Regions from separate parts of the Homo sapiens genome. Here regions 2 and 3 are each linked to region 1. Evidence: promoter capture Hi-C in 16 types of primary human blood cells and fetal thymus (Javierre and others, 2016). All regions are on one chromosome and are shown on one strand. Each heading gives the region's core, a stretch centred on a gene start or on the middle of the fragment in contact. The rest is flanking DNA. Distances are from core to core; before and after follow the strand shown.

Region 1 (3,810 bases), core at 602-3,101:
TTCCTAACCCCATCTGCTAGGTACAATTCACCTATGGTCTTCTTTGTCCTGTCGATGTGCCTAACTATCAGGCAGATGTTTATAAAGAATTTCTCCTCATATGCAAGCGTTTTTTGTTTTTTTTCATCAGTATAAGGACAGAGAATAAACCTTAGCTAAGAAGCAACTGTATTAAAAACAAAACGATTTGTAGCTATGATTCAAATCAGCTCTCTTTCTGTGGTATTAAGAGAATTAAAGGGTAGAAGCAGAAAACCTCTCATAAATTAGCAAGAGTCCTGGAAAAAAGTCGCAAGTCAAGAGACCACAAAGATCTCAGAGGTACTGACAGTGGAAATCTCAAATGGATCATAATAGTTACCACAAATAATTTATAAAAAGCAATGGCCAATAGATTCCAATATTACCATTCTATTGTAATCTATAGGGATGCCATATTAATCATATTTAACCTTTCCAGGCATTATGCTTTCTTAGGAGTCCATATTCAATAAATAAATGCTGAAAAGTTATTTTCTCATCTAACCTAATAATCCATATTGTTAAAAAAATGTTTTATCAAACATTTCCTAGATGTCATAACTTGCTTAAAATTGTATCCTCATATAATGGTGAGGATACCATTACCAAATACCCTGGTGTTTCTACTGTATTCATCATGTACAATCCTATAATTATAGTCATGTTGTCTTAACTTAGTGTTATAAATCACTACAATTTCTATAACATTTTCATATATGAACAAAATTAATAGCTTTCTCATTATTGAATAGAATCAGATGTGATAAGTGACCTCAAATGTTTTATTTAGAGGCTTAAAGACAAAGAACTCTAAACGAGTATCCAGCATCTTTTGAAAGGATACCTAAAGGGGCAAGAAAAAAAATTATCTTTCCCCCATGAGCAAGAGAAGGGGAGCTGGGTGGTAAGTAAGGATGCAAGGTTTTCAGGACTGTTAACAGTTGAGAGTGTAGGTTCTTTCTACCTCTCCCTGATCCTCCCAGCCCTCCCCCATAACAATGAGGATGCTGGTGAAATACTAGCGGACAGGATCTGACCATACCTTCATGGGTAGGCTCTGGGTCAGGTGTAAGTGAGATGTCATCCAGCTCTCGCAGGCAGAGCCATTCTCCATCCATGGACACTCGGAATTTGCAAAGGTAGATGGTCTCCATGGCAGCCTGTGTGATCTTGTCAGTGGTGGGGGTTGGCATATCGGTCGGAGGCGTCAGAGCAGACATGATGACTCAGCTGGGACCACAACACACACACAGACACACACACACTCACACACACACACCAAAAAAATAAATACAACCTCCTCACCAAAAAAACCCAATACAAAGCTCTGAAACAAAGCTTTCAGGAAAAGGGTGGGGGAGGTTTAAAAAAAAAAAAAAGGAAAAATACCTTATAGGTTAAGAACAAACTGCTCAAGATAAACAATTCTACACTATCTTATAGACAGTTCCTACCACATAGCAAAATAAGATGATGCTTGTCTTCTCCCAGCTTCCTCTCCTTTTATCTTCCCTTCCCTGCCCCCCACCTTTTTTTTCAGCTGAGCTATAGGCTTTAAATCCCGCACAGCTGATGCTGCCTTAGCTGGCTTTAAAAATCTGGCCTCGATATGAGTAAGTGAAAAATCCTCCTCCTTTGTGCAGAAAAAAAATATAAAAGAAAAACCTGAACAAAAAATAAACCTATATTTTCAATGTAGCTTAAAAAAAAAATCCTGAGCTGCAGAAATCACTTCCAGGATCTGCTCAGATGAGCTGGGATGCTGAGTTCTCATAGGATTGGCCGTGCGCAGTAAGCAGGGTGTTGACCAAAATGGCTGACTAATGAACTGAACTGAAAATTCAGGCTCATGTGACCAGCTGCTCTGAACGTAGGGCAAGCAATTCCCAGGATGCTTTATAGATGCTGCTGATGCTGGGAGAGCAATTAGGCTTCTCTCTCTCATCCTGTACAACCCACTTCCAGACTGTGCTAGTCAAACTGTGATCAGACATAACACAATGCACATATCCTCATCAATTCTTCTTACTTTGGGATCAAGGACTGAATAAAAGGATGACAATTAATACCGGATAATAATCTATAGTAAAGATGGTAAAAGAGGCAGTTAGATTAATTTAACAAGCATATAATTCACCTCTTTCATTCTTATCTACATAGCTATTAAAATTCTTTACTATGCTAAATGTTATGTTTTAAGAAAAGCTAAAGCATAAAAAATTGAGGTTCTCAGAGGGAAAAAAAACAAAAAGATAAAAAGAAAAGCTAAAGTAGATTTTCAATTTAAATATCTTATTCTTGGGCATTTATAATTTCCTTCTCCAAGGTACAAAAACCTGACCTTTTAGGTTAGGCAGAAATGCAAAAAAAAAACTTCAAGTTAAAAAAGTAAAATCTTTCCCAATTAATGGCAATTTCCCCCCTTTTTGATTTTGTTGTATTTATCAAGTTTCTGTATTAAGCATAAAATACGTTTCTTTTTTTTTCTTTTTTCTTTTTTGAGACAGAGTCTTGCTCTGTAGCCCAGGCTGGAGTGCAGTGGCGTGATCTCAGCTCCCAGGTCCAAGCAATTCTCTGCCTCAGCCTCCCGAGTAGCTGGGATTACAGGCACCCACCACCACGCCCAGCTAATTTTTGTATTTTTAGTAGAGACGGGGTTTCACCATCTTGGCCAGGCTGGTCTTGAACTTCTGACCTCATGATCCTCCCACCTCAGCCTCCCAAAGTGCTGGGATTACAGGCGTGAGCCACCATGCCCAGCCTTAAGCATGAAATATGTTTCTAAGCAGATTAAACCATGTTATATTTTTAAAATCCTCCCATTCGATAAGATACTGAAGACAATTATATTTTCTTAATACACACACACACACACACACACACACACACACACACACACACACACGGCCCTATATTATCCAATGAGGCATTTATACCTTGGTAGCAAAAGGGCAGGTACTTGCTTTATGAACTACATAAATTACAAAGAGAAGAATAAGAATTTTCTTTGAAAATGTTTTGGACAATTGAAAGAAAGTGTTTGTTTGTTTTTGTATTGAAGGGTTCCAATTTTAAGGAGGAACATACAAATTCAAGAAATATGACCTGAGACTATTCCTTTCTAGGGATTGTTATCAGAGGGACATCTTGATTTACCTAATTTCTGAAAACTAAAAAAATTCTCCTTGAATATTGTTAAAATCTCAAATGCTTCATCATAATTTGAGACTGAACTGAAAGAAAAAAATGCTAATAATCAAATTCTGTAGAGAAACTGGCATTTTCATATTGTTACGAAGACAGGGCGGATGGCTGGGCGCGGTGGCTCATGCCTATAATACCAGCACTTTGGGAGGCCAAGGCGGGCAAATCACCTGAGGTCAGGAGTTCGAGACCAGCCTGGCCAACATGGTGAAACCTCATCTCTACTAAAAATACAAAAATTAGTCAGATGTGGTGGCATGTGCCTGTAATCCCAGCACTTTGGGAGGCTGAGGCAGGTGAATGGCTTGAGCTCAGGAGTTTGAAACCAGCCTGGGCAACATGGCAAAACTCCATCTCTACAAAAACAAAAATTAGCAAGGTATGGTTGCGCGCACATGTGGTCCTAGCTACTTGGGAGACTGAGGTGGAAGAATCACGTGAGGCCAGGAGGCAGAGGCTGCAGTGAGCCGAGATCATACCACTGCACTCTACCCTGTCTCAAAATAAAAAAAAGAAGGAGGGTATACTGGTACAATGTAAGAAGGCATATATATAGGCTTATTTATAATTGGGGAAAATCAGTAA
Region 2 (3,810 bases), core at 809-3,308, 300 kb before region 1:
TATCCTCCATATTGAATTTAGTTGAAAAAGATAAATTTAATTTCACAAGCAGTTTATTATTAAAGTATCTAAAGATTGGTGGTGTAGGGAAGAGAGGAAGAAATGGGGACAAAGCAGAGAAAAAGGGGGTGAGAAAGAATTTTTGTTATTATAATTTTACCTATCCTACAGATAGAGGCACTAAAGGATAAAAAAAAATCCTTATTTTATTTTTATTTATTTAATTTTTTTCTAAGATCTGTCAGATTCTGAGATTCCGAAGGATCTTTATTTTAGCTCAGGCCACAAAGCTAGAATTTAGTCAGGACTGGAATCTTAAACAGTCCAAAATCTTCTAAAGCTCTTAACTGTTTCTTAATGTAACTTTATGGAAGCTTTTCTGTTAGAAAATTGTTTTCTCACCACTCAGTACACTTTTTTAGAAAAAACAAATATTTGTTTGTAGTCTGTCTAAATCTACCTTTTCAACCAGACTTTCATATTTGTCTTTAAAGTCTTCATTAACATCCAGTGTTAAGATAGGCACCTCTTGAAGATAATCGAAGTTGGTTCTGTTTAAAAAGAGAGATTAATAAAATAATCAGAAATTCAACAAAAAAAAGAGAGAAACATTAAAAATTCATTCGTATGTCCTTGGAAAATCAAAATGTTGTCAATCATTTACACTAAAGTTACTTTGCAGTACTTCATCTGGCAGCCCCTTCTTTCTCATCTAGATTTACCATATGGAGCCCAAAAACTTAGGTACAAAATATATACAGCTGGGTACTGTAACATATGATTCTCTTCAAAAACAAATAGCAGTCAATAAAGTAGGAATTTCTGCATTTTTAAAGATGAGAAAACTAAAGCTCAGAATTGTCATTCTGAAGCTCAGAGGCTATCCAAGGTCACACACCAGTAAGACTGGACTTGAGCCAAGATCTGACTAATAACAAAGTCTATCCTCTCAACAACCACGCTATACAATCTCCCAAGTCAAAATTCTTTCTGAAAGAGTACCTAAATAATGTTCAGATATATTCCTACTTTATCACTTAAAGTGAAATTTCACATATTACGCTATCAATACCACCAAGGGATACTAGTTATAAAAACTTTAAGTAAATAGGATCTCATTGCAATCAAGAGAATGAAAATCTATACCTAGTTCTGGAAGATACCAATAAGCAAAACGACTGGAAATTTTACATATTGCTAGTCATATCTTCCAAATTTTAGATTAAAATTTAACAAAGGTAACAAAGGTATTTAAAATGAATAGTAAATAAAAATAAGTCTTACTTCAGTGTCCTATGCAGGAGCCAGCTTTCATGTTTATAATGAAGCTTCTCTAAATATTCAAGAGGAATGCCTTGCTCTTCATTTCTTCCCCGTAAATATATTCTATGTAAGCATGTCTAAAAGCAAGTAATAAGAGATGGAAGAAAAAGGCAGGGAACAATTATTCTTGTCTGCTGCCATCAAAATTTTCTTTTCTGTGTCTCTCTACTCACGCTAGCCAAAATCTCTACTTATTACTTCTTAAAAGCTGAAATAATTCATTTTTCCCTCCATGAGCTTTTCAGCCACTTGGTGGCTCTAAGCCAAGCAGTACTTTCAAAAATAAGCCTATAAATTTTTGGTATCCATCCACACATGAAATATACTAAGTTTGATAAAAAGGAGAAAAAAATTAAACATCTACTTAAAATGTTCAGAGACAACAGCTAAAAGGTATGCCAATCTATAAACATAATCTTACTTTGCTGTTAACCAACCTTGATTACAAAATATCTATGTTCAGTTCACATAAAACCACTAAAGACAGTGGTTCTTAATGTGATGAAAACTCTATATCAGCACAACCAAAACAACTTTGGAATGTTTTATGCCTGTCCTATATCTGCATTATCAAATAAGGTAGCCACCAGCCACCTGTGGTTTTTAAGCACTTGAAATATGGCTAGTGTGGTGACCAAGGAACTAAATATCTAAATTTTATTTAATTTTAATAACCCTAAATTTAAATAGCCACATTGGACAGTGCAGCTCTAGATAACGGTCCCCCAAAAGCACACATACATAAAAAATTTCGTATAATTTGTGGGGGCTCATATACCATGAGAAACTCTTCATGCATTCCAAGAAATAAAAGCCTCCAACCTAAATGACATGCATAAGACCATGGCAGCATACAAACTGTGTTTCAAACTCTACTCTAAATTCTCTTTTCAATAATTAAACAATCCTTTCATCCAAAGATATCAGAAACAATACTGATGAAATTATCAGTATCAAAATGAAATTATTAGTATTATTTATGTTTTTGGTGTTTGTACTATTTTCATAACTTTAAGAAACCTTTTCAAAAATAAAAGTGAATTTCAAAATTATTATATTTGCTAAATTCTAGCTTAATAGTGACTATAAATGTTTCAAGCAAAATGAAATTATTCATATTCCTTATGTTCTTTTTCACATTTTTATTTACTATTTTTGTAATTAAAAACAAAAAAATTCAAAAATAAAAGTGAATTTCAAAATTCACTTTTGAAATTGCTAAAAAATTGCTAAATCCTTGCTTAATGAAGAACAAAATCTTTACTTAATGAAGAACAAAATCATCCGTTGGAATAGGAAACCTAATTTCTTTGAAAACCCAGCTTCGACAGCAACACAGTATTCTAATTTTAGGCCAGAAGTCATAACATTTACATTCATCAGTGCCTACCCTGTGACTTAAGGAAAAAATGAGAATTAAAAAACAGAAACAATAGAAATGCACGCACCAAAACCAGAAAGCTTCTGATTAAATGTAAGATCTTAATATTTAGGTTAGTTTTATGAAAGGCATCTATTTGGTCATCCTGTATTCATTATATAACATCATATGTAACTAGAATAGCTATGTTACAACCTATCACAAAAAGCACCTTTTCAAGTGAGCTCCCTTAATGGAAAATGGCAAGGGTCCTCTAAGTCTTTTCCCAACGATAGCTGCCATTATCCACTCATTCCAAGGCACAAACAACCATAATAAAATATTTCTTGATATGGACCTCCATCAACATTGCCATTCATTCAGTAAATATTTACTGAGCTCCTACTATATGCTCCAACAGTGCCCAGCACTGGGTGTTCTAGGCAATGGAAATTCAATAGTAATCAAAATGCCCAAGGTCCCACCTCATGAAGCCTATATTCTAGGAGTTGCTTGACCACATTCATTACTTTAACTGTGATGAATGAGAAGAGTCTGCAAATGTTAGAAAGAAATAATGAGTAAAATAAAAAAGAATTGAGGAAGCACAAAGAGCCTAAAACAGCAACTTGCCCAGTCTGGGATTCCAGTTTGCTGAGAAAAAAGAATGCTTCTATCTACACAGTTACAAGTTTCTAATTTAGAGGTGGGGAGTGGGAGGTTGGGAGGCTGGAGTTAAACTAAATTGCCCTCATTATATACCACTGAAAAGAGTTCTAAATATTTCTTTAAATTTTCAGTGAAACACATTTTTATTGGGTTTTACCTCTGGAGTGGCTTGAAGATAAATGATTCCATCCAATTCAAGGCTTTGGCCAAATTGGTTATTCATCCAGTCATGCCAGTCTTGATAAATTGTCCACTCTGTCTCATTCATGCATTCAGATTCATACAAATTAGATGCAAAAATATACCTAAAAGAGAGTCTTCATCAACACATGTATCATTTCAAAAAAAAACAACAAAGAAATAAAAAAGAGAACAGGAACATGAAACATTCTCCTAAATCCAGTGGCACATAGTGCCGTGGAAAGCAGAAAAAGACAAGAGTCTTTCCATCATGTTTT
Region 3 (3,810 bases), core at 538-3,037, 280 kb before region 1:
TTGGTATTTAAAAAAATGACACTGAACTCTGTCATTCTCTTTCTTCCTCATTTGCAGTGCAGAACGGTAAAATGCTGCAAAATTACAACTTCTGCCCAGAGTGAAAGTCTGGCAAGAATGAAAGTAAAAAGAAATGAGAGTAAATGACAAAAGGCTTGAAAGGTAAAATTCAGTTACTGAATAGTAGTTTTTCTTTTTCTTATTTGCTTTTTTTTTTTTTTTTTTGGTGTTTTTGTTTTTTCTGTTTTTTTTTTTTTTGAGATGGAGTGCAATGGCGCGATCTCGGCTCACTGCAACCTCCACCTCCCGGGTTCAAGCAATTCTCCCGCCTCAGCCTCCTGAGTAGCTGGGATTACAGGCGCCCACCACCACGCCCAGCTAATTTTTGTATGTTTAGTGGAGACAGGGTTTCACCATGTTGGCCAGGCTGGTCTCGAACTCCTGACCTCAGGCGATCCACCTGCCTCGGCCTCCCAAAGGGCTGGGATTACAGGTGTGAGCCACCGCACCCGGCCTTATTTGCTTGTTTTTAAACAAAATGTGAAAAGACACTGAAGGGTTGGGCATAGTGGCTCAGGCCTGTAATCCAAACATTTTGGGAGGCTGAGGCAGGCGGATCACCTGAGGTCAGGAGTTTGGGCCCAGCCTGACCAACATGGAGAAACCCCATCTCTAGTAAAAAAAATTAGCCAGGCATGGTGGCCCATGCTTGTAATCCCAGCTACTTGGGAGGCTGAGGCAGGAGAATCGCTTGAACCCGGGAGGCGGAGGTTGTGGTGAGCCAAGATCGAGCCATTGCACTCCAGCCTGGGCAACAAAAGCGAAACTCCATCTCAAAAAAAAAAAAAAATTAGAAAAGACAATGAAGGAATTTAATTTGCTGTTAGATTTTTTAAAACTTTTATTATTTAACTTTTTAAAAACTTTTAGATTCCCAGGCAAGATGGCCAAATAGGAACAGCTCTGGTCTGCAGCTCCCAGTGAGACCAATGCAGAAGACGGGTGATTTCTGCATTTCCGACTGAAGTACCCAATTCATCTCATTGGGACTGGTTATACAGTGGGTGCAGCCCACAGAGGCCAAGCAGAAGCAGGGTGGGGCATCGCCTCACCTGGAAGGTGAAAGGGGTGGGGGAACTCCCTCCCCTAGCCAAGGGAAGCCTTGAGGGATGGTGCTATCCAGCCCAGATACTAGGCTTTTTCCCACAGTCTTCACAACCCGCAGACCAGGAGATTCCCTCGGGTGCCTACACAAGGGCCCTGGGTTTCAAGCACAAAACTGGACAGCCATTTGGGCAGACACGGAGTTAGCTGCAGGAGTTTTTTTTCATACCCCAGTGGTGCCTGGAATGCCAGCGAGACAGAACCGTTCACTCCCCTAGAAAGGGGGCTGAAGCCAGGGAGCCAAGGGGGCTGAAGCCAGGGAGCCAAGTGGTCTTGCTCAGCAGATCCCACCCCCACGGAGCCCAGCAAGCTAAGATCCACTGGCTTGAAATTCTCACTGCCAGCACAGCAGTCTGAAGTCAACCTGAGACACTGAAGCTTGGTGGGGGGAGGGGTGCCCGCCATTACTGAGACTTCAGTAGGTGGTTTTCCCCTCACAGTGTAAACAAAACCACCTGGAAGTTCAAGCTGGGCAGAGCCCACCACAGCTTGGCAAACCCCTGAAGCTAGACTGCCTCTCTAGATTCCTCCTCTCTGGGCAGGGCATCTCTGAAAGAAAGGCAGCAGCCCCCGTCAGGGACTTACAGATCAAACTCCCATCTCCCTGGGACAGAGCATCTGGGGGAAGGCGTGGCTGTGAGTGCAGCCTCAGCAGACTTAAACAATCCTGCCTGCTGGCTCTGAAGAGAGCAGTGGAACTCCCAGCGCAGCGCTCAAGCTCTGCTAAAGGACAGGCAGCATCCTCAAGTGGGTCCATGACCCCCATGCCTCCTGACTAGGACACAGCTCCCAGCAGGGGTCGGCAGACACCTCATATAAGAGAGCTCTGGCTAGCCTCTGGCAGGTGCCCCTCTGGGACAAAGCTTCCTGAGGAAGGAGCAGGCAGCAATCTTTGCTGTTCTGCAGCCTCCGCTGGTGATACCCAGGCAAACAGGATCTGCAGTGGACCTCCAGCAAACTCCAGCAGACTTGCAGCAGAGGGGCCTGACTGTTAGAAGGAAACTAACAAACAAAAAGCAATAGCATCAACATCAACAAAAAGGACAACCACGCAAAAACCCCATCTGAAGTTCACCAACATCAAAGACCAAAGGTAGATAAATCCACAAAGATGAAGAAAAGCCAGTGCAAAAAAGCTAAAAATTCCAAAAACCAGAATGTCTTTTCTCCTCCAAAGGACCACAACTCCTCGCCAGCAAGAGAACAAAGCTGGATGGAGAATAAGTGTGACGAATTGACAGAAGTAGGCCTCAGAAGGTGGGTTAATAACAAACTCCACTGAGCTAAAGCAGCACGTTCTAACCCAATGCAAGGAACTAAGAACCTTGATAAACGGTTACAGGAACTGCTAACTAGAATAACCAGTTTACAGAAGAACATAAATGACCTGATGGAGCTGAAAAACACAGCATGAGAACTTGGTGAAGCATACACAAGTATCAATAGCCGAATCGATTAAGTGGAAGAAAGGATATCAGAGATTGAAGAAAAACTTAATAAAAATAAAGCGTGAAGATAAGATTAGAGAAAACAGAATGAAAAGGAACAAACAAAGCCTCCCAAGAAATATGGGACTATGTGAAAAGACCAAACCTACGTTTGACTGGTATACCTGAAACTGACGAATGGAACCAAGTTGGAAAACACATTTCAGGATTATTATCCAGGAGAACTTCCCCAACCTAGCAAGACAGGCCAACATTCAAATCCAGGAAATACAGAAAACATCACAAAGATGCCCTTGAGAAGAGCAACGCCAAGACACATAATCGTCAGATTCACCAAGGTTAAAATGAGGGAAAAAATGTTAAGCGCAGCCAGAGAGAAAGGTCGGGTTACCCACAAAGGGAAGCCCATCAGACTAACAGCAGATCTCTCGGCAGAAACCCTACAAGCCAGAAGAGAGTGGGGACTAACATTCAACATTCTTAAAGAAAAGAATTTTCAACCCAGAATTTCATAACCAGTCAAACTAAGCTTCATAAGTGAAGGAGAAATAAAATCCTTTACAGACAGGCAAATGTAGAGGGATTTTATCACCACAAGGCCTGCCTTACAAGAGCTCCTGAAGGAAGCATTAAATATGGAAAGGAAAAACCGGTACCAGCCACTGCAAAAACATACCAAAATGTAAAGACCATCGACACTATGAAGAAACTGCATCAACTAACAGGCAAAATAACCAGCTAGCATCATAATAACAGGATCAAATTCACACATAACAATATTAACCTTAAATGTAAATGGGCTAAATGCCCCAGTTGAAAGACACAGAGTGGCAAATTAGACAGAGTTAAGACCCATCAGTGTGCGGTATTCAGGAGTCGCATCTCACATGCAAAGACACACAAAGGCTCAAAATAAAGGGATGGAGGAAGATTTACCAAGCAAATGGAAAGCAAAAAAAAGGCAGGGGTTGCAATCCTAGTCTCAGATAAAACAGACTTTAAATCAATAAGCATGAAAAAAAGACAAAGGGCATTACATAATGGTAAAGGGTTCAATGCAACAACAAGAGCTAACTATCCTAAATAGATATGCACCCAATACAGGAGCACCCAGATTCAAAATGCAAGTTCTTAGAAACCCACAAAGAGACCTAGACTCCCACATAATAACAGTGGGAGACTTTAACACCCCACTGTC

The links. The method cuts DNA at HindIII sites, captures the fragments that hold promoters and counts their contacts. A CHiCAGO score of 5 or more calls a contact.
Region 2: a contact is called between a fragment that was not itself captured here and the fragment with the promoter of RUFY3 in region 1, in 2 of 17 cell types (total B cells and monocytes). The highest score is 5.5, in total B cells.
Region 3: a contact is called between a fragment that was not itself captured here and the fragment with the promoter of RUFY3 in region 1, in 1 of 17 cell types (fetal thymus). The highest score is 5.3, in fetal thymus.

Annotation. Positions count from the first base shown.
Region 1 is chr4:70,720,005-70,723,814 of GRCh38, reverse strand. It overlaps RUFY3 (RUN and FYVE domain containing 3), which reads right to left and starts at 1,851. Exons shown (of 18, transcript NM_001037442.4): 1 at 1,064-1,851. The coding sequence starts at 1,241. The HindIII fragment of the contact is 24,519 bases long and covers 1,362-3,810 here.
Region 2 is chr4:71,023,406-71,027,215 of GRCh38, reverse strand. DCK (deoxycytidine kinase) reads right to left here. Exons shown (of 7, transcript NM_000788.3): 4 at 3,510-3,657; 5 at 1,285-1,400; 6 at 461-551. Among named protein-coding and RNA genes, the nearest start is that of DCK, 32 kb to the right of the region's middle. The HindIII fragment of the contact is 1,456 bases long and covers 1,331-2,786 here.
Region 3 is chr4:71,002,549-71,006,358 of GRCh38, reverse strand. All of the region lies in intron 2 of DCK (deoxycytidine kinase), which reads right to left. Among named protein-coding and RNA genes, the nearest start is that of DCK, 11 kb to the right of the region's middle. RefSeq lists enhancers at 1,476-1,735, 1,428-2,124 and a silencer at 1,733-2,027. The HindIII fragment of the contact is 485 bases long and covers 1,545-2,029 here.